Linked DNA regions of Homo sapiens: region 2 is linked to region 1. Evidence: promoter capture Hi-C in human tissues and cell types (Jung and others, 2019). All regions are on one chromosome and are shown on one strand. Each heading gives the region's core, a stretch centred on a gene start or on the middle of the fragment in contact. The rest is flanking DNA. Distances are from core to core; before and after follow the strand shown. Region 1 holds the start of TEAD1 (TEA domain transcription factor 1). Region 2 has its middle 37 kb from the start of PARVA.

Region 1 (2,602 bases), core at 70-2,569:
CCAGGGAGTCGAGGCTGCAGCGAGCCCAGATCGCACCATTGCATTCTAGCCTAGGTGACAGAGCAAGATCCTGTCTCCAAAAATAAAATAAAAAAAAAATTAAAAAAAAGGAAAACAATGTATTAGTAAAAGTTATGTTTTGTAGAAATGTGTTGCACTCAGTCACAGTCTAGTCTCCTCAGTTACCCATATATAGGGATATAGGGATTCCTCGGGCACAAAATATGTTGTTATTTAATCCTGAGGCCTCAGCTGGAAAAGAGAGCCAAGTGCCTAGAACGAATGAGGTCCACTGTGCGGGAACTGCTTTGCAGTTTGTTAAATAATTATAACAATCACCCGAAACTTTAGACGGTTCTGTCCCCAGTGGGTCGATTTTACCCGTTTTCTGATTTACCGACTGCGTCTATGTCACTTTTGCGTCACTACCTCCAATGGCAGGGTTAAAATGATTCCTTTAATAATGAAATGAAGTTTCTCAATAATGAAAGGGCTAACTTAAAGTCGCCGGATGCAGCATTTCAAAGTTTAGGAAGTTACTTTTGAAAAGTACAACCGGCAGAGATGAGTGAACTTAGTTTTTTAACTGACTTGGAGAAGACCTTGCTAGCAGGGCAGGTTTATTACGAACTCTGTAATTATCCTTCTTTGCTAAGCTAAAGGTTTTCCTTTCCCAACCGTAAGACAGATTTCGACTTGAGTGAGAGCTGTGAACTTTTATAAAAGTGAAAGGGAAGAGAAGAAATGGCAGGCTGGGAATCTGGCCCGGAGACGGCGTCCACCGCGCTCGAGAGCAACAATCTGCATCACCAGAAAGGCAACTTCTCTACCCTACACTTGCAGACTTCCGCGAGTCCGGGAGCACTCAACGCAGTCACCCGCGCTTCCGCGTCCCGGACTAGGGAAACTGAGGCACGGTAGGCGCGTCGCGCGCAACTCCCGCCTCGGCGCCTGCCCCCTGGAAGAAACCCAGGCTTCCAGAGTTCTTCGCGCGAGCGCAGGGACTTCCAAGCCGCGCAGCTCCCGTCCGCCCCGCCCCGCCCCGCCCCGGCTCGGGACAAAGCCCGGAGCCCGCGCCGGGAGACGGAGGGCGGCTCCCGCGCGAGCCACGCTCCCCCGTGGGCGCGAGACTCCGCCCAGCTGCCGAAAGCCCGCGCCCCAACGGCGAAGCAGCCGCGCCGGTCCGCCCCGATTCCCCATGACGTCACCGGCGGCGGCAGGCCCCGCCTCCAGCCCCGGGCGGCAGGCCGCATGACGTCACCGAGGCCCCACCCCTCCGGAGCGAGTTCGGTCCTGGCGTTCATTTCATTCCTGTCCTCATTCCGAACATTCTTAGCATCGCTCGCGCCGCGCCGCGCCGCCTGAGCCGAGCCGAGCCTCTGCTGCCGCCGCCGCGGCCCCGCCGCCCGCCGCGGGCGCCCACCAAGCACTTTGCAGACTCGCTTCCACCCTGCGGGCCATTCCGCGCGGCGGGGCCCGGGCCCGGGGCGGCCGCGTCCAGGCACAGGCCATGCAGTGACGCCCCCCCACCCCTCCACCTTTGCCCGGAGCGCGGGCAGCAGCCCAGCGCGCCAGCCGGCCCCGGGGCAGGAGCGGTGCTAGGCAGGGGTGGGGTGGCCGGGCCCAGGGACCGGGAGCCGGGGAGGGAGCCGGGCACCGAGCAGAGGGCGGGGGAAGCGGCGCCGAAGTTTGCCTCGGACTCGCCGGGCGCTGCGGTGGCTCCCTGGGCCGAGGTAAGTTGGCGCGCGGGGCGGATGCTGGGGTGCGGGGGGCGCACGGGGCAGCGGGGGGCCGGCGGCGCGTCCCTCGCGGGCCGCTCTTTCTTTGCGGGCTCTGCTTTGTGTGCGACGGCGGGCGGGCACGCGGAGGGCCGCGGCCGGGCCCCCACACCCGCCTCCCCGCGCCCCCTCCGAGGTGAGCGGCCGGGCGCCGCCGCGCGACTTGCCAGGACGCCAAGTTGGGCCGCGCGCTGGGAGCCCGCGCGGCAACAGGCGGCCCCCGGCCGGCCGCGCCGCGCCCCCCGCGCGCCCCCTCTCCCGCCGCCTGCACGCGCACACACGCACACACCCTCGGGCGCCTTGGACGGGGTGCGCTGGGGAGCCAGAAGTTCGGAGCGAGCGCGGGCGGGCAGAGCCGCCGCCTCGGAGCCCGGAGCCGGCCTGCACCCCCCTGCTTTCGCCGCCGCCCCCCGGCGCCGGGTACCCCCGAGGCCGGCCCGGGTCTGCGCAGACTTGTGCCGCTGGCGGGGGGTTCGCTCCTTCTTCTCAAAGATGAAAAAGGGCACGGTCGTCTTTGCCGCTTCTCCAGGACTGTTGCTGCCGCTGCCGCCGCCGCTTCATTGCACATTCAAGTGGAAAATTTTCAGGAGTCAGCAGAAACATTGTGTCCAAAAAAGACTGAGTCGCAGTTACCACCAAACCCAGGAGGAGACTCTCCCTGGAAAACTTCCCTTCCCTTTCGGTAGGAAATACTGGGGGATTTGTTTGTTGATTGGAAGAGAAATGATCCCCGGGGGGGAGAAAATCTGGGTACACTTCTAGTCTTTGTTCGTAACAGCAACACTTGTTTTCAAAAGTCCAGAGTCCCGCTTTAAAGAAAGTTT
Region 2 (2,602 bases), core at 30-2,529, 330 kb before region 1:
TCCAGTTTTTCTGCTCTGTTTTTTCCCCATCTTTGTGGTTTTATCTACCTTTGGTCTTTGATGATGGTGATGTACAGATGGGTTTTTGGTGTGGATGTCCTTTCTGTTTGTTAGTTTTCCTTCTAACAGTCAGGACCCTCAGCTGCAGGTCTGTTGGAGTTTGCTGGAGATCCACTCCAGACCCATTTGCCTGGGTATCAGCAGTGGTGGCTGCAGAACAGCGGATATTGGTGAACCGCAAATGCTGCTGCCTGATCGTTCCTTTGGAAGTTTTGTCTCAGAGGAGTACCCAGCCTTGTGAGGTGTCAGTCTGCCCCTACTGGGGGGTGCCTCCCAGTTAGGCTACTCGGGGGTCAGGGACCCACTTGAGGAGGCAGTCTGCCCGTTCTCAGTTCTCAAGCTGTGTGCTGGGAGAACCACTACTCTCTTCAAAGCTCAGTTGGAAATGCAGAAATCACCCATCTTCTGCGTCGCTCACGCTGGGAGCTATAGACTGGAGCTGTTCCAATTCAGCCATCTTGGCTCTACCTTCCAGAATATTTTCAATCCACAGTTGGTTGAATCTGAGGATGTAGAACCCTCAGATACAGACGGTCAACTGTGTTTGCAAAAAAAATAACCAAAAAAGAATCAGCATTCTAGAATATTCCCACTGTTACAAATCAGTAAGAAATAGGCAAACAACCCAATATAAATATAGACAAATGACATAAATATTCTCTTCACAGAAGAATACTTAATGTCCAATAAATCTGTGAAAAAGACAGGAAAATACAAATAATTCAGACTACAGTAAAAAACTATGGAAAACTATTAAATTATTAGAACTTTAAAAATCTGATAATACTAAGCATTTGGCAAGGGTGAGGGACAAGGTGCACTCTTATTCAATGTTAATGGGAACACAAATTGTCACAACACTTTGGAAAACAATTGGGCTTTAGGCTGTGAAGTTGAATATGTGCATACGCTACAATTTAAGAATTTCATTCCTAATATATACTCCAGAGAAACTCTTACCCACGTGGCCAAAAAGACACATACAAGAATGCTCATAACAGCATCACTCATAATAGCAGAACTCTAAGAACAACTCAGATATCCATTAACAGGAAAATGGATAATTTGTGGTATAGTCATACAACCGAATGTTATATATACAGCAGTGAAAATGAATCAGTCACATGGATGCATTTTTACAACATAATTTTGAATTTAAAACAAGCAAGTTATGGAAGAATACATATAGTATAATACAATTTCACTAAAGCCCAAAGTCAAGAAAAACTAATTTTTTTGTTTCTAAAGAATATACAGATTAAAACAAAACAAAAAGTAATTTAAAAGGGAAAGATTAGAATTTTTATTTTTCAGCTGCATGCTCTGACTCCCAGAACAGAATTGTGAGCTAGCTACTAGCATCTTGGGCTTGTCAAGACTGAATCAGGCCAGATTCACAGCACAGCTTTCTGGATTATCATCATTCTGTGTAAGGAGCCTGTGGGAGGCAGACATACCCAGAGCTCCACATATGAAGGGTGGTAGAAACTTGAATGAAACAGGTCTGTGCATGAGCTCCAGAGTGGAGTGCTGACCAGAGACCAGAGAACAAAAGACAGGGACCGAAACCCAGCCATTCCAGGGGAGAGGCCCTGCACAGTGCTATTGAGAGTTCCTGCTCCACTTTCTCTAAAGCCCCTTGAAGGCCCCTAGATCATCAGTGAAGATGAAGACTACATCAACAAAATTGCAGCGAACACTGAATTAGGACTTCTCACAGATTCTAAGGAGGTGCAAAATCACATCAAAAGAGATAGATAGTTATGAACCACGCAGCAAAACAAGACCCAACTTGGATAAAAAACACACACCAATACATAATCAGAGAAGCCTTCAGCATTACCTACAAAAAAAAAGGTTAAAAACAAACAAAAAAAAAGACATAAGTTTAAAGAATAAATAGATCGTTTTTTTTCTCTACTACTATCTATTCCAAAAAATGTTATTGGCCCGGCGCGGTGGCTTATGCCTCTAATCCCAGCACTTTGGGAGGCCAAGACAGGCAGATTACCTAAGGTCAGGAGTTCAAGACCAGCCTGGCCAACATGGTGAAACCCCATCTCTACGAAAAATATAAAAATTAGCCGAGCATGGTGGCGCATGCCTGTAGTCCCAGCTACTTGGGAGGCTGAGGCAAAAGAATAGCTTGAACCCGGGAGGTGGAGTTTGTGGTGGGCCAAAATTGCACCACTGCACTCTAGCCTGGGCATCAGAGCAAGACTCTTTCTCAAAAAGAAAAGAAAAGAAAAGAAAAAAGTTATTGACCTTTACATGCCAATCATCGTAGGGTAAGTAGGGACTAAGATTTACCAGCCTTGGTGGTTGGAAGTAACATAGTGTGCTTTGCAATTTTGAGAGTACTCTTGGGCAAAACTGAGTCAATATAAATGACTCTATTAATAAAAAGTCACTTTGTGTTGGGTTTTGATCATTTCACCTCAGCAAGTGGGATACTTACATTTCGCACAGGAAAAGGCATGAGATGAGGACACAGGAGCAATTGAAGAGCCAGTTGACAGTGGACCCAGGCAGAGGGTGAGCG

Evidence for each region. The method cuts DNA at HindIII sites, captures the fragments that hold promoters and counts their contacts. A contact is called where the count stands out against the background at its distance.
Region 2: a fragment that was not itself captured here is called in contact with the fragment with the promoter of TEAD1 in region 1 in 1 of the 25 tissues and cell types used here (mesendoderm cells).

Annotation. Positions count from the first base shown.
Region 1 is chr11:12,673,102-12,675,703 of GRCh38, forward strand. It overlaps TEAD1 (TEA domain transcription factor 1), which reads left to right and starts at 1,320. Exons shown (of 13, transcript NM_021961.6): 1 at 1,320-1,733; 2 at 2,308-2,460. RefSeq lists a silencer at 1,012-1,311 and an enhancer at 2,147-2,602. The HindIII fragment of the contact is 23,361 bases long and covers 1-2,602 here.
Region 2 is chr11:12,339,538-12,342,139 of GRCh38, forward strand. It overlaps a transcript of MICAL2 not described here. Among named protein-coding and RNA genes, the nearest start is that of PARVA, 37 kb to the right of the region's middle. The HindIII fragment of the contact is 6,094 bases long and covers 1-2,602 here.